Regions from separate parts of the Homo sapiens genome. Here regions 1, 2, 3, 4 and 6 are each linked to region 5. The links are contacts of gene promoters, found by promoter capture Hi-C in human tissues and cell types (Jung and others, 2019). All regions are on one chromosome and are shown on one strand. The core of a region is centred on a gene start or on the middle of the fragment in contact, and the rest is flanking DNA. Distances in the headings are between cores, read along the strand shown. Region 1 overlaps ATP8B4 (ATPase phospholipid transporting 8B4 (putative)). Region 2 overlaps ATP8B4 (ATPase phospholipid transporting 8B4 (putative)). Region 3 overlaps GALK2 (galactokinase 2). Region 4 overlaps ATP8B4 (ATPase phospholipid transporting 8B4 (putative)). Region 5 holds the start of FAM227B (family with sequence similarity 227 member B). Region 6 overlaps FAM227B (family with sequence similarity 227 member B).

Region 1 (3,353 bases), core at 714-3,213, 310 kb after region 5:
GACAACCCCCAGCATATTGCTGTTAGACAAAGCTTTCTTTCAAACCACAGAACACTTGGCCTAACTTTTTAGGTTTAGTTGTACAGCTTGACACATAGTAGGCAATTAATAATTATTTGTTGAATGAATGAATGACATGGCTGGGTATTTCTTCCCAGAACTGCCTACAACTTAAGACAACTGCCTTTGTCACAACTTCATAATCTGAATACTCTTGCCCTCATAGGCTTCATCAGTTCAGTCAAAGATCATTACATGCTTTCTACTCAATTATCCCATTTATCTACAAAGAGAATGCCTCAAAAAAAGGTTAACATAAATGTTTACTATTATTTACTGTTAATGTAATGCCAAAGAAAATGGCGTACAAAATTTAGTGCTTAATTTAAAAAAATATAAAAACCAAAATACAATGTTACCCTCCCCTCTACCCCAGTCTACACTTATCTATTCTAGTTTCCTCCTGGCTTACATAGATCTAATAACATACCCTGGAAGCTTTTTAGGACTGGGCCTTGTCTAGGTCTTGTCTTCTGTTTTAAGACCCTTGGTTAGCTTGCCTAATTGCCAGAACTCATGTGGGTTTTCTTGTACTCTAGCTCTAACCCCTACATTGGGGAAAAAGAAAGAGAAAAACATATGCAATTTATCTAATTGTTAAACCAGGGGGGGAAACTTAATCCTAGGAAAGACTCTCTCTTGATTTTCTTGTACAATAATCCAATTGAATAATTTCCCTTATATTTTCTCCCTTCCAACACCAGAGGTATAAAGGCAAACGATGAATAACCTACATTTGCCTGTATTTTGTATTCTAGACTAGGACATTAGTTCTCTAACTTATGGTCTCAGGACCTTCTTTATAATTTTTCAATGCTGAGTGAGGATTCTAAAAAGTTTTTTTAAGTGAATGTTATCTATCAATATCCATATTAGAAATTAAAAATGAGAAATTTTATTATATCAGTTTTATAACACTAGTTACTATAATTATTATTATTGTAAATCTAACATATAAGCATAAATAACATTTCTATAAAAAAACTATATTTTCCAAAAAATATTAGTTTGGAGATTGGCATTATTTTACATGATTACAGATCTTTGTAACATCTAGTTTAATAAAAGAGGGTTGGATTCCCATATCTGTTTCTGCATTCATTCTGTTGTGACATCACATGTCACGTGGCTTCTGCAAAACTCCATGGTATACTCATGAGAAAAAGAATGAAAAAGATAAATAATAGTGATATTATAATGAAAATACTTTTGTCCTTGTGCATCCTCTGAAAAACTCACAAAGTTCCCTAAGGTTCCCTGGACCACACATTTAGAATCACTGGTCTGGAAGAATCACAAACTGATTGTGATTTGTGTAAATCCCTTACCATCACTGTATCTTAGTTTCTACATGTAAAAAGGAGATGTTTAAACAATCTAACTTCAAAGGTCCTTTGCAGCAGTACAATTTTCTGATTCAATAAATACTTTCCATCCCTGATACTTTCCCTTAACCTAGTATTTGTCCCTTTAAATTTGATTTTGTGGAAATCCAATTTCATGGAATCCTGCTTATGTTTACTCATTAAACATTTGCTTTAGCAGCAAGTTTTATATCTCTTTTCTTCCAAGCCTTCTGGTCGTTTCTGTTCAAAGTTAATAAAATCTAAGTCATTTCAGAAGTTAGTATTTCTTAAATAAACTAAAAAGGACATAGTTTTAAATGGTCACGATAACATATGGCCAGAACTTGGACAAAGGTTACAGTTTTTAGGTTATAAAATCTTCTCCCAATGCTTTCCATTTAAATATTAGTGTTCTTCAGAGATTTACTTGGGGTCTTTTTTTTATCTTCCCATCCTTCATACTGTCCCTGGGCAACTGCATCATTTCTATGGCTTCAGGTTCCAACACCAGGCTGTTTTCAAATGTGTATCTCCTGTCCAATCCATCTCTAGCACTCCATTCTGACCTGCACATCCGACTACCAGTTGAAAATCTCTTGGATATGCTCAAGCACACCAAACTCATACTGGACATATTACCCTCCTCCAATAATTAGCTACTCCTCTTATATCCCCAGTCTTAGTAATCAGCTTCACCATCCATTCAGTCTCCCAAATCAGAAATCTAGGCATCACTCACAGTTCTCCCTTCACCAACCATACATCTAAGGGAAGCTACGGATTTCTCTTGCCACTTCTCTCTTGCCTAGAAAATCACTTTAACCTAACTGGTTTTACCCATTCCAGTACTGCTTCCTTCCAGACTCTTCTGTATATTCCAGTTACAGTCATCTTCATGCTGCTGCTTAGAATCCTGCAATAGCTTCCCTCTCCCTTCTATTAAGTTTGGACTCCTTGACATGACATATAGAGCTTATTAACAGCTGCACTATCCAGTCTGTTTTACCATGTTCTCTTGGAGGCAGCCACATAGAACTACCTTTCAACTTTTCACATTCTCCCTTAGCTTGAAGGCCCTGGAACATATGGGGAACTTAAATCAATATTTACTTAATTAAGATGAACCAAAATTGTGCACAATTTATTGAAAGCAGAAGCTATGCCTTTGTGACATAAAGGAAAGAAAAAATGTCACAAATGGCTTCCAGTTAGATGCAACAGCAGCACTGTGAAGGGTGGTAAATAATTCTATTTTGCCATATCGCCGCTGTTCATACATCTACACAGAGAAATGCCTGTCACATGACAGTGTGATTTGTACTTTGATAATCTTGAAAAAGTTTAGAGTTGAGCAACTTTTATCTAAAGATCTCGTAAGAGCCTTCCAAGAAGCTTCTTGTAATTTCTTCTTCTTTAATGGTTATCTGCCACTTGCCCCTGTTAATAGCCACCTCTGAATTTTATCTCTGTATTTCTATTTACAGAATTAGTAGAATTGGTCCTTCCAAAACTATATAATGTCATTTATATTTTTTACTAATATAGTATATTCTGTTCCCTCTGGAAAAAAATCCTTTATAGAAATCAATTTTTATGTAGATACTTCTGACTTAAATCAGGGCTCTTTCTTCAGAATGAAAGTACTACTGGTATTGAAATTATACATTGATGATTTAGTGAATAATGGCTGCCACCCAAAAACAAGGAAGCAGAAGAGGGAGGAGGAGAAAGGGGAGGATCAGCAGCAACAGAAGCAATGCCTGAGCCTTTGCATCAGGGTGTTGTTCCTACAGACCAACCCATGTGACGATCATGAGACCAGGATTGTTTTCTGCCTTGTTATCATGCAAAGACTTTTCTGCCCTGGTAGAGTCCCTCTAAAAATCCTCCTGATTAAAAACCAAGCAGAATAAAAATAAATCCAGCAAACCTTCATGCATTCTGTGG
Region 2 (3,337 bases), core at 493-2,992, 330 kb after region 5:
GCTCTCAAAACCCTTGCACACTGAAAATTAGAAAACATTGATGAGGCCGGGTGCGGTGGCTCATGCTTGTAATCCCAGCATTTTGAGAAGCCAAGGTAGGCGGATCACGAAGTCAGGAGATTGAGACCATCCTGGCCAACATGGTGAAACCCTGTCTCTACTAAAATACAAAACATTAGCCGGGCGTGGTGACACGTGCCTGTAGTCCCAGCTACTTGGGAGGCTGAGGCAGAGCAATCACTTGAACCTGGGAGGCAGAGGTTGCAAGTGAGCTGAGATCTCACCACTGCACTCCAGCCTGGCGACTGGCGACAGAGTGAGACTCTGTCTCAAAAAAAAAAAAAAAAAAGAAAACATTGATGAAAGCAATTAAAGACACAAATAAATGAATATGTATCCAATGGTCATGGAGTAGAAGACTTAATATTGTTAAAATCTCCATATTGCCCAAAGTGAACCATAGAAATCCCCATCAAAATTTCAATGGTATTTTTTTACAGAAGTATAAAAAAAATTCTAAAATTGATATGGAACCACAAATGACCCCAGATAGCCAAAACTATCTTGAGGAAGAAGGACCAAGCTGGGGTCCTCACAATTCCTGATTTCAAACATGTTACAAGCTACAGTCATCAAAGCAGTGGGGTACTGGTATCCCCAGTAAAGACAGACACAGACCAGTGGAATAGAATAGAGAACACAGAAATAAACCCACACATAAACAGATGAATGAATTTCAACAAGGGTTCCAAGACTATACAGCAGGGAAAGGATAGTCTTTTCAACAGAGTGAGGAAAACTAGATATGCACAGGCAAAAGAAAAAAATGGACCATTATCTTACATCTAACACAAAAATCAAATTAAAATACATTGAAAATTGAAACATAATCCCTGCAACTATAAAACTCCTAGAAGAAAATATGGAAGAAAAGCTTCATAACAATGGTCTCGACAATGACTTCTTGCATAGACATGACAACAAAAGCACAGACAATGAAAGCAAAAACAAATAAGTGGAACTATATCAAATGTAAAAGTCTCTGCTCAGGACTGGGCGCAATGGCTTATGCCTGTAATCCCAGCACTTTGGGAGGTCGAGGCGGCAGATCAGGAGGTCAGGAGTTCGAGACCAGCCTGGCCAGCATGGTGAAACCCTGTCTCTACTAAAAATACAAAAAAAAAAAAAAAAAATCAGCCAGGCATGGTGGCACTCGCCTGTAGTCCCAGCTACTTGGGAGGCTGAGGCAGGAGAATTGTTTGAACCTGGCAGATGGAGGTTGCAGTGAGCCAAGATTGTGCCACTGCACTCCAGCCTGGGTGACAGAGTGAGACTCTGTCTCAAAAAAAAGACTGCTCAGCAAAGGAAATAATCAACAGAGTGAAAAGGCAACTTATGGAATAGGAGGAAATATGTGCAGATCATATATCTGATAAGGGGTTACTAGCCTGTTGAGCTTTTTTTCATATGTTTGTTAGCCATGTAAATGTCTTCTTTTGAGAAGTGTCTGTTCATATACTTTGCCGACTTTTTGATGGAGTTGTCTTTTTCTTGCAAATATGTTTACGTTCCTTGTAAATTATGGATATTAGACCTTTGTCAGATGGGTAGATTGCAAAATTTTTCTCCCATTCTGTAGGTAGCCTGTTCACTCTGATGATAGTTTCTTTTGCTGTGCAGAAGCTCTTTAGTTTAATTACATCCCATCAGTCAATTTTGGATTTTGTTGCAATTCCTTTTGGCATTTTTGTAATGAAGTCTTTGCCCATGTCTATGTCTTGAATGGTATTGCCTAGGTTTTCTTCTGCTGAATAGAAGATCCTTTCCCTATTGCTTGTTTTTGTCAGGTTCGTCGAAGATCAGATGGTTGTAAATGTGTGGTCTTATTTGTGAGGTGTCTGTTCTGCCCCATTAGTCTATATGTTTGTTTTGGTACTGGTATTGTGCTGTTTTGGTTATGGTAGCCTGGTAGTATAGTTTGAAGTCAGGTAGCATGATGCCTCCAGCCTTGTTATTTTTGCTTAGGATTGTCTTGGCTATACAGGGTCTTCTTCGATTCCATATGAAATTTAACATAGCTTTTTCTAATTCTGTGAAGAATGACAATGGTAGTTTGATGGGAATAGCATTGAATCTATAAATTACTTTGGGCAGTATGGCCATTTTCATGATATTGATTCTTCCTATCCATGAGCATGGAATGTTTTCCCATTTGTTTGTGTTCTCTCTTATGTCCTTGAGCAGTGGTTTGTAGTTCTCCTTGAAGAAGTCCTTCACATCCTTTGTTTGCTGTATTCCTTGGTATTTTATTCTCTTCGTAGTGATTGTGAATGCGAGTTCATTCATGATTTGGCTCTCTGCTTGCCTATTGTTGGTGTAAAGGAATGTTTGTGATTTCTGCACATTGATTTTGTATCCTGAGACTTTGCTGAAGTTGCTTATCAGTTCAAGAAGTTTTTGTGCTGAGACGATGGGGTTTTCTAAATATAAAATCATATCGTATGCCAACAAAGACAATTTGACTTCCTCTCTTCCTATTTGAATACCCTTTATTTCTTTCTCTTGCCTGACTACCCTGGCCAGAACTTTCAATATTATGTTGAATGGGAATGGTGAGAGAGGGCATCTTGCACTGGTTTTCAAAGGGAATGCTTCCAGCTTTTGCCCATTCAATATGATATTGGTTGTGGGTTTGTCATAAATAGCTATTATTTTGAGATATGTCCCATCAATACCTAGCTTATCGAGAGTTTTTAACATTAAGGGATGTTAAAGTTTATCAAAGGCCTTTTCTGCATCTATTGAGAAAATCATGTGATTTTTGTCTTTGGTTCTGTTTATGTGATGGATTATGTTTATTGATTTGCATATGTTGAACCAGCCTTGCATCCCAGGGATGAAGCTGACTTGATCATGGTGGATAAGTTTTTTGATGTGCTGGTGGATTCAGTTTGCCAGTATTTTATTGAAGATTTTTGCATCGATATTCATCAGGGATATTGGCCTGAAGTTTTCTTTTTTTGTTGTGTCTCTTCCTGGTTTTGGTATCAGGATGATGCTGGCTTCATAAAATGAGTATGGAGGAGTCCCTCCTTTTCAATTGTTTGAAATAGTTTCAGAAGGAATGGTACCAGCTCCTCCTTGTATTTCTGGTACAATTCAGCTGTGAATCTGTCTGGTCCTGGGCTTTTTTTGGTTGGTAGGCTATTAATTACTGCCTCAATTTCAGAGCTTGTTATTGGTCTACTCAAGGATTCAACTTCTTCCTGGTTTAGTCTTGATAAGGTGTATGCATCCAGGAATTTATCCATTTCTTCTAGGTTTTCTAGTTTATTAG
Region 3 (2,911 bases), core at 73-2,572, 320 kb before region 5:
TCTTCTTGTAAATGTTTTGGAAGAAAAGTTTTCCATAGAAAGCTAGACGAAACTCCAAAGGAAGTTTTAGACCCTTCTAGAGTTTACAGATGTTGGTTGAACAGAAATCCTTAAAATCTGTGAGATGGACTTCTAATGAGAAAGCCAATAAAATGGGTCCTTTGGTTTTGTCTATTGTTTTTGTTTTTATGAGAAAAATAATAGACTGTTGTAAAACAAAGTATAAAAGAATAAATCAAATAATAATGATTTTTCTTTCACACAAAAGATATTATTCTTTAAGTTGTTTTGGAAGTCAAGTTTGCAGAAAATTTGCTTTCATTAGTCCTTTTTTCTTTCTCTCTCTGCCTGGTCACTTCCTTTTGCCCATCAGCTTCTATTGACTTCTCAGTTGTCTGGCTGTGGAGGACAGGTTCATGCCAGGAATAAAGGTTCCTACCTTGTTTCCTAGGGAAAAAAAATGGGCTTACCTGATATCGCAGATAACCAGGAAATTCCACTTCCTCTTTCAGATGTGTGCGTGATATGTCCCTATTCATTGGTTCACCTTCCCCCTTCAAAACTAAAAATGAATGTGAACATACCTTATTAAGTAGGATTTTTAAAGGCACGGCATCATAAAACTTGCAACTTCTGTAGGAAGAGCCTAGGACATGTGTTGGAATCACACCAGTGATTTGTGTTGTGTGTTGGTCAGCTTCTCAGCCGCTGGTAGGTAGGTCAGTACTCACAGTGTGACTCTTGTCCCACAAGGCTAATGGTGACCATGGTTCTGGCTTCTGAGGCCAGCAGAGAAGTAACAATGTGCATGAACTGCCGTGGCACCAGCTGCTCCTATGTAGACCTTTGAAGCATGAAAAATACATGTCTCTCATCATTCTTAGTATATTTACTTATTTGCTCATTTTCCCTGTATGTACCTGGTTTCCTGACCCTGCCAACTATCTTCTTCACTCCAGCTGCCTCCTTGGCCTTGGCATCACTGGCCTCCTTGGTCTCCTCAGCTCTGACCACCACCTTGGTCCAGCCTTGCAGGCCTCTTTGTTTCTGACCCTGTAGTTCCTGTACATCTCCTCAGCCCCAGCTGCTTCTTTGGCTCTAGCCTTGCTGGTCTTCTCATTTGTGGCTGCCTCAAGGGGAAGGAAGGGAAGAAAAGGAAAGGAAAATGTATAATTTCTAAACTTGTAAATATATGTATTTAAGTCTAAGGAAATGTTACTCAGTATTCCCTTTGCTTAAATTTATCATGGATGTATCTCTGTCTTTCAGGAGTGAAATTATCAAAGGATCAGCTGTGAAGTTATTAGATACTATGTTTTGAGTAGAATGAGGCTTCTGCAGATATAAGGACATCTCATTGTCTCCTCTGTCACTCCTCTGCTGGTTTGGAAACATCTATAGGAAAGCATCTTCTATAGTCATCATCAACCTAAGAGGCCAACATCTTGCCATCCTATTTTCCTTTTTTGCTACTTATGCTTTCATTTTTACATTTTGTAGGTTTCCACATAAGTAAGTGTTCTCTTTGTATACAAAGCAGCTTTTCTTATGGTGAAATTCATTTATTTTGGTCAAAGTGATTGTCCTGTACTGGTAAGCTCAAACTGATTGTGCTTCAGTAACAAACAATTTCAAAGTCTCAGTGGCTTGACCAAGCAAAAGTTTATTTCTTACTCACTCTTTATATCTAACATAAGTCAGCAAAAGAGTTTGTTCATCTAAGACACTTATGGAGCTGGGCTCAGAGGGCTCCATCTCAACACGTTTGTCCACAATCATGGCAGGAGGAAGGTAATGTTGTTAATTGCTCTCTGGCTCTTAACATCTGCCAGAGTGACTGGCATCACCCCTATGCTCATTCGATTGGCCAAAGCCAGTCAGATGGATGTGATGAACTTCAGTGAGGGTGAGGTAGTACAGTCTTAATATGTGTGAGGATAGCTGGAATATTTGGAAGCAGCCTAATGACAACTGTACTTTCCCATGTTGAGTGGCTATGAGTCTCATCCCATCAAATCTTGGTGATACCAATGAGAACCAATTTACTTTCTCATATACAAATACGAAGTTGACATTTTTTCCAAACATCTGGGACAATGAATATTGCTCTTGATCAAATTTCAAGTTATTTTCATTTAAGAATTAGACAGACATACTGTGATCTCTTTTTATGTTACACATTTCTCTCATACTGGCATTTTATCTGCACATGATCTGGTGAAAGCTTACTTGGTAATGATGGCTTGTCACTTTCTTCCCTGTCTTGCAGAGTTCATGGTCTCTTTTCAGGAGCCAGTCATTCTAATATCCTAGTTCAAGAAAACATCTTCTTCTGTTTATTAGTTGTTCAATTTCTGTAGTCCTTTTTCAAAGTACTTAGCTTCAGGTGGAAGAAAGTTTCCTAATAATTTCTAAATTAGAAATTGTATGCTATTTTCTACCTACTGTGCCATTTGTTTCCAGGAGAGTCAGCTGAGGCGAGTAACTGTGGATGGATCTAGTGCCTTTTTGCAGGTTATTGCCAAATATTAATAGTAATGACAACAAAAATAATGACCTATTGTATGTGTATAGACACTAACAGTTTAACCATATGAGATCTCATTTGATCATCATTCATGTGGCAGGTTTCAGACGAAAATATGACAGGCCACCACTCTATATTCAGGGTAGAGACGCTCCATAGTTTTTTAGAAAATGTTTGAGGAAGATGGTTTCTTGTTTTGTCTTTAGAAAGGATTAGAATGGGAGAGACCACAAAGATTAACACCCTTAGTCCATTAGGACTTCTCTAATATTGGGAAACCCTTATTCTGTCAAGGGCCACTGATGGAACAGTAAAAAAGACCAGAGACCACCTACATAGGAAAGCAATATAATTTAGTCTTTTAATGAGAAGTTATAAAATGTT
Region 4 (3,283 bases), core at 407-2,906, 290 kb after region 5:
GAAACATATCGCTAGTTTGTCCTCTAGGGAGTTTCTATCAACTTACAGTCCCAACAACAGCATACAAGTAGTTCACATTTCTCCATATTCTTTCCACGTAATGACAGTTGTGTCATCTAGCCAACCAAATGTAGTTGGATAAAATCTTGAGATATTAACTCAATCGCTCCTTTTCCCACTACTACTAGGACCACAAGTGATCCTCTCCATTTAACTAGAAACATACTTTGCTTCAGGAGGATCTGCAGAGCCAAATATAGAAGGAGAAAAATACAACGAAACTTTTGTTTTTGAGCACCAAAATAGGGCTTTGAAACTCATAGCAGCATCATTAGTCTGAATTTCAGCAATCTGGAATTTCACTAATTGGACTTTTGGAAAAAGAAGGGGGGGATTTCTTTAAGTATCAAAAGAATAAACTTTAAATGAGTCAAGGCATTAAAATGATGACAAAAGGAGCAGAGTAGGAAGAAATTACTTTCCTTCATTTCCCATCCCAGCCTAGGGAAAGGGGACTTTGAGGAGTTTAGAAACTGATAAGTGATGGCTAAAAAAAGCCGGGGTCCTGACCCGCCCCTGGATTGGTAGTGGATGAAGGAACCATGTGGCTAATGGAATCCTCAGATAAATTTAGGGGAATCAGCAGAGTAAAGGGATTTTAGAAACTGAAGTGGCCATATAAGAACACAAGTCATCTTGGGCATAGAGAGGTGAGGAAGAGCAGCCACACTTTCCATGGTTCCCCAGCAGAGTGTGGAAGTCAGCCAAGAGGGAAAGCCAACAACAACCCTAAGAGAGCAGAGACCAGACAGGAACACAGACGTGGGAAGTGCTGGATGCCAGCAGGGTAGACACTGATGAACAGTAACAGGTGAGGCAATTGTACATCCCAGACTTGAACTAAATTTAACTGAAAATGCCTAGTTTAATTGTTCTGTCCTCAGACAGAAAGAGGTTCAAGTTCAGTTTTAGAAAATTTAATGAGTTTCTATTCTTGCATGCCTGAGCACACTCTGGGCTGTGAAACCTAGCAGTGACAAAGCCTCCTACTATTTCTCTTCACATCCAATCAAATTACAAGACCTATTCATTCTACCTCCAAAAAGCTGTCTATTTTATTCTACCCTTTCCTTCCCCACTGTTTCAGGCCTGCTGCCCTTATTGGGGAAATAGTTACAAAAGTAGTCCTTGTTGGTGGAAAGATTGGGATCAGTGGCTGAAAGAATGAAGGAAGGGAGAAGGGAGGAAATAGACAAGGAATGAGGAAGGCAAGAAAGATGCGCATGGAACAGTCATAAAGCTTTAAGTTCTTATCTAATCCCCCAAATAAAATAAGATATAGAGTAGATATTTGTATCCCCATTTTACAAATAAGGAAACCAAGCAAACAGAGGTTATTCCCATATCAAAAGTTTCCCACTCAGCCTAAGCATGAAGCTGAGATTCCAACTTGAATCCAGCTGACATGAAGCCCATACTCTTTCTCCTACATCTGCTATTTCCCCTGGAAATTTCTGCTGACTCTACTTGCTAATCTGGTGTCTGACCATTTACTCAAGTGAAGCAGTAAGATACCTTAACAACTATATTTTTAGGTTAATTATTAAAGGGAATAAAAATAAATCTGAGGTATGTTTAGGGAAACACATGGCAAGTGCACAGCCTCTGGGACCAAGCTGCCTAGATTCACATCCCACCTGAACCACGGACTACTTTGGGCAAGTTACTTACCCTCTATATACTTCGACTTCCTCATATGTCCAACAGGGAAAACAGTAATGCCTACGATTGAGTTTCTTAAGAACAAAATGAGGTAATACATGTGTACTGCCTACAATACTCTTCCAGGCACTGTCTCAAAACATTTAGCAACAGGCTTATTAAAATCTAGATCTGTTTGCATCTATCTTCCTTCAGCAAGAGTCAAGTTCTGAATGAGAGTGGTCCTTCAAGATGTACGACTAAAGGCATCTGGCAGTTGCCTCCTCCACAAAGAAGCACCAAGATAGAGAGTAGATAATCATACTTCAAATATGTCATCTAAGAGAAAATATTGGAGTTCAAGAGAGAAGTGACAGGAAACACCTAAAAGAAGAAGAGGGAAACAAGGCATCCTGTCTGGCTGGGAGCCCAGAAAGGCTCTCCTGTGTAGGGAAAGTATAAGTGAGGGATGCCCAGTGGTCCACAATCTCACCACAGACTCCACTCCTAGCCATAGGAGAGCCTCTCAACCCTTTCAGACCCTGAAATTAACATAGGGAGCTGCCTGAAGACAAGGCAGTGCCATTGCCCCAGAGAGGGAGCTCACACTGGGTCCCACATACCACAAAATGACAGCAAAGTGTCATTTTGAGAGCCCAGCCCCACCAGACTGCATCCTGCCTGAGGGCCCAACAGTACTTGGCTTTCCACATTCCTGGAGCTCCACTGACATTCCCCACCTGCAGCCACCACCACTGCCACCACTGCCACCATGGCCAAAGTGCAAGACGCTGACAGCAACCCCACTACCCTTCCAGCAACAGGACTTCCTCACATTTCCACATGCCCTAAGGATAGGCTACCTTACATATAGCTGCCACCTACAGCCAAAGCACACACTTCCCAGCCACCTGCCTAAGGCTGCTACTACTAAAAGCAATCCCACTCACCCCAGCAGCCAGCACGGCCAGAGTGCAGCTACTGCCACCCCCACCTGAGCATTCCACCAGAGGCCTTGGGATAACCCTGTCCCTGCCACCACAGCCAGCACCCATACATACCACTGGACAGCGGGGAGAAGGGGAACATACAGACAGGTCTGTCCAGTCTGGCTTTGACCGCACTCCATACCCCCCACCCCAGTACTTGAGCATACCACCTAGGGGCCTGGGGATCACCCTGCTCCATCCACCATCCACTGCCGTGGCTCCATCCACCATCATGACCACTCCTCCCAGAGACTGGAAGACAGACTAACCCAGCCTGCCACTACCACCACAGCTAGCACCCACCTGCACTTACCACCCGTGGACCTGGGGAATGGCCTGACCAGCCTGTCACAGCCACTGCCAACACCAGCATAGGCTATTTGGGAGCCAGAGAGTTGTCCAACCACTGCTACTGCCATTGCCTATGCCATGCCTGCAGCCCAGGGGCCCAAGGTCCAGCCCACTGTTTCTACTGCTGTCACCTGAGCAAGCCTCCTGGTGGCCCAAGAATCATCCCACCAGGACACACTAATGCCAGTGCCAAATGTGCTACCCTTGGACCCAAAGACAGGCAGGCTCAGCCTACCACTGCT
Region 5 (2,930 bases), core at 125-2,624:
TAAGCTAAGAAGTCTGACTACCTTGCTGCCATACTGTGAGGAAACCCCGGCCATATAGTTACAGAAGCTCTGCTAGCATGCCCACTCTAGTCTTTCTAATTGAGTTACCAAAGAAAAGCTGATGACTATGCCCTATTGACAACACCACCTGTGAACATAATAAAATGGTTGTTTTAAGCCACCATATTTTGGAGTAATTTATTACATACGATAGCAACCCAATGCTCAATCTAACAAGTAGTATTATTTGCTTTTTAATCTGTGCAATTTAACTACTTTGATAAAATTTAGAGTTAAACTAAAAAGGAAAATGGTTGTGAATTCTTCTTGGCTTATAGACTTTGCTATTCTACTTTCCCTACCCAGAAAATTCACCTTTCTCCCTAAATCACTGGCTTTCAAACTTTTTAAGGTTTGAAATACAGTAAGAAATACATTTTACAAACAAGCCCTAGTGCACACATACACGCATATATACAATTAAAAGCTCCATAAAGCAGTACTTTACTAACTAACACTAAATTTACTTACATGCGCTGATATTTCCAATCTATATTGTTTCTTTTTTTTAAGTTTAAAGAGATTTCCTTGCTTACAAATGGGTCAAGACCTCCACTAATGGGTCCCACACAATCCCCTTTCCAGTTGAAAAACACTGTCCTAAACCTAAATCATTCTTCAAGGCCTTACCCAAGTCCGAAAAAGAAGCCTTTATTGACCACTCCATTCTCAGCTTTCTTGAAATTCCTGTAATTTATTAAATTCCATTTTTTATCTCAGTAGTAAGAATATTGCATTTTCTGTACTTGAATTTAACATGCTTTACTTGATATCGTGAGCACTTCTAGGGCATTGTAATGTCCTTTATCTACCACTTGATAAATTCAGAGTAGTCAATAAAACATTGCTCAACATTTGACCATTGTGTTTTAAAATCTTAGTTGTTAGAGTGCACTTCCGTTTGCGCATTGTTTGGGGAGAGGCACGGACAAATGTTCTAATAACTTATCCACATATTATACTTCAAAGTGGAAAAACACAAAGTACTCTTAACTCTATATGCGTGTTTTTATGCAAACTAAATCATTAAGATACAAATGATTTTTCTAATAGCTTTCATTACCACACAGCACACGAAATAATGATATTGATATAGCCACGAAAGACTAATGTAACCAAGTTCTCACAATCAAAATATCTTTGAGGTGGGCAAAATGCAAACTTTTCTCTGGGATCAACATTTCTTCACAACTCACTGCAACTACGCCTTGACAGTATGTTTCGAGAACCGCTTCCCAATTTTGTTGTCCCAGCAAGAATCGGGAGGAAACTGGGTGAAAGGCTGCGAGGCTTGAGGCGGGTCCCGGACGAACGCGGCCCTGCCCCTCGCCGGAGCCTCTCGGGAGAAGTGCGACACCGCCGCTGATTGAGAGGCTGAGGCGGAACTTCCCGTCTAACCCCCCCCCCGCTGTCGTCCCAGCCTGTTGCTTAAGCCGCGCGGTGTGCGGTGTGCGCGGCCCCTGCCTTAGCAACGACGCTAGTAACTGCCTGGCTCCTCCCTCTGGTGTCTCCCGGAAAGCGCTCCGTCTGGTCCGTGCGCGATCACGGCCCGGCGCGTGGCTCGGGCTCGGGCGGAGCTGGAGACGTGTGGAGCTGTTCGAGGACTCGCGGGTGTGCAGGTCTGAGTACCACTCCGATCCCTGGTGGAGGTCCCCGCGCCTCTCTGGAGACCAGTGGTCTGGCCCCAGAGGTGCGGCCGCGGGAAGTGGACATTCTTTGTCAGGACCCTAGCGGAGGTCGCGCTGGGTGTCGCCTGTGAGGGGGATCCTCGGTTTCTGCGCGGTCTCTTGCTTTTTTTAGGATCTTGCGGGCCCTTTGGGAAAAAGGTTTCCAAATTTTTCCTCAAAAAAAAAATTATTTTTCCTACCAATGATTTTCGGTGCATTCCGCCCCAACGAAAAGTATGTCCTGGCAAAGTCAGTTCCCTAGGAACCCCATACTTTATTTTATTTTATTTTTAGTATTTGGAGTGGTTTGTGGGGGTTTGGTTATCACGGAAGGGGAAGCGTAGTACAGACGTAGAATTAGTGATGCCATGCAGTGTATTTAAAATATTGAGGTTGTGGTTACATAATAAGCAAAAGAGCCTGTTTCTTACGTCTAAATTATTTATTGGGAATGTAGGACAAATAAGGAAGTATATTAACATTTTCAGTCGCCAGGCCCACAAAGTTGGATGGTAAAATCAATACTGTAGATCGCAGCATGTAAGGACTAACCCAGTGCACCATGAAAACGAAGGCAAGACAGTTTGTTACCATATGGCGGGTGGTGTGGGAGAGGCCATTGATCCTATATGAAAAAGGGTACTACTACCTTGGATTATGAAAAATGAATGTTGGACCTGTAGGTCCTATGTGACCAAGTTCTTAAAAACACTCTAAAGAAAATTGGAAGTGGTTTTTTTCTAATACTGAATTGGTCCACAATATAGGACAGGGGAGTCTGTATAGTGTTCCATTGGGAGGTGAGTCAGCTTACAATAATGGAAGAGGTAGAAGCTTTTTGTTATTATTTTGGAGAAAAAAAAATTGCCAGCCTGCCACTTGTGCTAGGCTGCAGACGGCCCATAAAGGTAGTTTGTCAGATACTTCAGTAGTGAGATGCTTACTGGATGTGTTTTGCAGAATGGTTTTGATTTAGTTAACAAGTGTTTGTTGAGTTCCTGCTGTTGCATAAGAATCAGGAATAGGTGAGATCAGGGAAGGAATCTGCTCTTACAGAGTTGAATGCTGGAGGGGATAGATTCACTAAAGTACCTCCACAATAAATGCATTTTTCCATGTCAAATATGTGGAACTAATAATAAGTACTCAAAGAGGTTTAAGACATTGCTGTGGCCCATCTATGAGTTAATAAGGAACTGAATT
Region 6 (2,979 bases), core at 473-2,972, 270 kb before region 5:
TTTCTTCCTCAGAGTGCCTGTTAGAACTTCAAAGATTTTATTCTTCTACAAAGTTATTGTGCTCTCTTGAGTATCATTTCCATGATTATTTGTGAGGGAGGTGATGTATTTGTCACTTTGAACAAATTTTGGATTTTCTTTGACTTGTACATTTATTATATACTATTGGTATTGAAATCAAGAATTATGTTTTATTTCTTATAAATTATTAATTTTGAACATATGACTTTATTGAAATGAACTGGGTAGACATACGTTCCTCATAAAGTCATTCTAATTGTAAAATTTGGTCATGGTTGTACATTTGTGCTGTATAATGAAGTGCTGGGCTGCATGATGTTGGTGTTGACTGAAATCTTAGCATTTTCTTGTACAACTCAGTGGTGATGGTTTTCAGTAGATTTCTGTTGAAGTGTGTTAATGAATATCTTAACTTTTATTCTTTTTAGACACTTATAACTATAAATTTTTTCCGAATTAGATAAAACAGAATACTTAGACCATATACATTATGAACAATGGTTATATTCTACTCCTTGGGGATGAATGTGGCAACATGTTTTTCAATTCCACCATCTGAATTGGCCTCATACTTTATATTCCCATGCACTGCTATATGGTAAGCCACTGAATGGAAGATTCACTTGGGGACAAATAAAATAGTCCTTTTCTGGGACTTCACAACAGTGGTTGGGATGTAACAAACTAAGACCTTCTCAACTCAGGACTCTGGGGTCTTTCATCTCCCTTTATAATCACAGAATATTAGAGAAACAAAGGGTTTTGGAAATTGTAGGATCCAATTTAATTAGATTAGAAATGAAGAAACTGAAGCTTCTAGAAGTGAAGTACCTTGCCTTTGAGAGATTGAGTGTGTGTGAGAGACTCAGGAAAAGAATGGCCCAGGGGCAAATTTCGTACTTATCTGCCAAAAGTATTGTCCTAGAATTGAAACCAAGAGGTTAATTTGATCAGGTCTGCCTGCCCTGCTTGCTTTTGGTCACTTGCTTTTGTTATTTTTTTTTTTTTTCCTTTTTCCATGAAGCTGAAAGCCATGCTGCTGAACACGAAACTTAACCTTTACTGGCTGCTTGATAGATACCATCCATAGTTCACCAAAACAACACTTCCGTTGTTTTTCAGAAACTTGGGCCAGCTCCTGTCCAATTCAAACTGGTTGAGACCACCAGCCCTTGAGCTGGGCCTGCGCAAGTGCGCAACAAATGGCCTTTTGACCATGGAGGGCCAAAAACTCTACCCTCAGGTTGTGCTAACACGATTTTCTATACATATGTCCTACAAAATGCTATGAAGCCTGACTATGCTTGCACAGAATGAACCTGTTACTTCATTTTCCCCATTGCCAATCACCTTTCCCCACACCTAAGGCCACCCCCATTTCCCTAACCCAAAAATATCCCTAAGCCTTATTTTAGGGGAAGTAGATGTGAGAGCTGTTCTCCTGCCTCCTTGCTTGGCAGCTTTGCCAATAAATCTTTTCTCTTTTGCAAAACCTGTGTCACAGTGATTGATTCACTGTGCATGGGCAGAACAGACCTGGACCTCGGTGATAACAGAATGAAGCTTCAGGAGGCTTTGCTGTCTATCTTGTATCCCTTAGAGATAGTCTTTGGATTATCCTCAGAGTTGTTTCTGAGCATCTCAGGCTTAAGGCGAAAGTGCCCATTATACACATAATGCTAATTGTATAACAAGTAAAAGGAAGCTAGGCAGCAAGCTGTGGCCAGAATCTCCTACTTTATACACTAGAATGCACTTAGTTCTTAATCCTAAAAACTACATTCTTGAAATAAGCTTATTAGCATGTGGCCTAAACTGATCTTAGAGCAGTTATATTCTGTTTAATGTTTACCTTTGCCTATAAGTAAAATATTTTAATGTTAGATTTGTAGTTTACCCAACATCCATGTATCAAAAACATTTTTTAAAAGGTTATAAGCACATGTGACTTACTCTATAGGAAATAACATCATTGTTGGAATCTTACCCAGATTCTAAATGGCCTAGAATTATATGTAAAATAGGATTGCAGTTCTAGTAAGTTTCACTATTTAATACATCATTATCAGCAGTTTTGTAGTATACTCAGGAAATTGAGGGAAGGGCTATTGAAAACATTAACACTTATTCAAGTAAAATAATTCAACAAAATTGCCAGGACTTGTATTAGGCATGGAGACACAAAAATAAGTAGAGACATGGTGTTTTGCCCTTAAGAAATTAGTAAGAATAAGAAGTGACAACATTTTTGAAGTAGGAGACAGAAGAACTATAAAATTTAGGAATAAAGACTGTAACAGCTTAGTGATCTATGCTTTTAGTGCAGGGTTGTTTAAAAGTAGATGAAGGTGCTTCTCCTTTCTACTATAGCATTCTATGTATAGGACAGATTATTGATGACCCTATTTCCCTGTCTTTGCTATTAGATTGCTTAGCACCCTCATACTAGTATCAGTGCTGGTATGTAACAGGTATTTGGTAAAACAAACAGTAAATGTTTACTGTTCTTTGCATACTGAACGAGTATTCTTATTGGTATCTAGGTGCAGTTGAGTTATAGATTTCATCCTGAGAAGCTTAGTTATTATCATAAAGTTAATTAGTTTTTGCTACTTTGTTAAAGAAGTCAGAGAAGTATTGATAACCTTCAATGAAAACTTCCATTAAAATGGATAACATTGGCCAGGCATGGTGGCTCACGCCAGTAATCTCAACACTTTGGGAGGCTAAGGTGGGTGGATCACCTGAGGTCAGGAGTTCAAGACCAGCCTGGCCAACATGGTGAAACCCCGTCTCTACTAAAAATATACAAATTAGCTGGGCGTGGTGGCAGATGCCTGTAGTCCCAGCTACTCGGGAGGCTGAGGCAGGAGAATTGTTTGATCTTGGGAGGTGGAGGCTGCAGTGAGCTGAGATTGCACCATTGCACTCCAGCCTGGGTGACAAGAGCAAAACTCT

The links. Contacts are between HindIII fragments. The study calls those that stand out against the background at their distance.
Region 1: a fragment that was not itself captured here is called in contact with the fragment with the promoter of FAM227B in region 5 in 2 of the 25 tissues and cell types used here (dorsolateral prefrontal cortex and mesenchymal stem cells).
Region 2: a contact is called between a fragment that was not itself captured here and the fragment with the promoter of FAM227B in region 5, in 2 of the 25 tissues and cell types used here (IMR-90 fibroblasts and lymphoblastoid cells).
Region 3: a contact is called between a fragment that was not itself captured here and the fragment with the promoter of FAM227B in region 5, in 1 of the 25 tissues and cell types used here (mesenchymal stem cells).
Region 4: a contact is called between a fragment that was not itself captured here and the fragment with the promoter of FAM227B in region 5, in 1 of the 25 tissues and cell types used here (mesenchymal stem cells).
Region 6: a contact is called between a fragment that was not itself captured here and the fragment with the promoter of FAM227B in region 5, in 5 of the 25 tissues and cell types used here (H1 embryonic stem cells, bladder, mesenchymal stem cells and 2 more).

What each region holds. Positions count from the first base shown.
Region 1 is chr15:49,924,200-49,927,552 of GRCh38, forward strand. The region is part of intron 16 of ATP8B4 (ATPase phospholipid transporting 8B4 (putative)); the gene reads right to left. Among named protein-coding and RNA genes, the nearest start is that of ATP8B4, 190 kb to the right of the region's middle. The HindIII fragment of the contact is 3,396 bases long and covers 266-3,353 here.
Region 2 is chr15:49,947,107-49,950,443 of GRCh38, forward strand. All of the region lies in intron 14 of ATP8B4 (ATPase phospholipid transporting 8B4 (putative)), which reads right to left. Among named protein-coding and RNA genes, the nearest start is that of ATP8B4, 170 kb to the right of the region's middle. The HindIII fragment of the contact is 8,482 bases long and covers 1-3,337 here.
Region 3 is chr15:49,302,702-49,305,612 of GRCh38, forward strand. All of the region lies in intron 8 of GALK2 (galactokinase 2), which reads left to right. Among named protein-coding and RNA genes, the nearest start is that of FGF7, 120 kb to the right of the region's middle. The HindIII fragment of the contact is 4,481 bases long and covers 1-2,911 here.
Region 4 is chr15:49,906,314-49,909,596 of GRCh38, forward strand. The region is part of intron 20 of ATP8B4 (ATPase phospholipid transporting 8B4 (putative)); the gene reads right to left. Among named protein-coding and RNA genes, the nearest start is that of ATP8B4, 210 kb to the right of the region's middle. RefSeq lists an enhancer at 2,863-3,283. The HindIII fragment of the contact is 6,171 bases long and covers 1-3,283 here.
Region 5 is chr15:49,619,444-49,622,373 of GRCh38, forward strand. FAM227B (family with sequence similarity 227 member B) reads right to left here and starts at 1,375. Exons shown (of 16, transcript NM_152647.3): 1 at 1,257-1,375. DTWD1 (DTW motif tRNA-uridine aminocarboxypropyltransferase 1) reads left to right here and starts at 1,605. Exons shown (of 5, transcript NM_001144955.2): 1 at 1,605-1,679. RefSeq lists an enhancer at 1,717-1,836. The HindIII fragment of the contact is 10,713 bases long and covers 1-2,930 here.
Region 6 is chr15:49,345,036-49,348,014 of GRCh38, forward strand. All of the region lies in intron 13 of FAM227B (family with sequence similarity 227 member B), which reads right to left. It also overlaps a transcript of GALK2 not described here. Among named protein-coding and RNA genes, the nearest start is that of FGF7, 77 kb to the right of the region's middle. The HindIII fragment of the contact is 4,860 bases long and covers 1-2,979 here.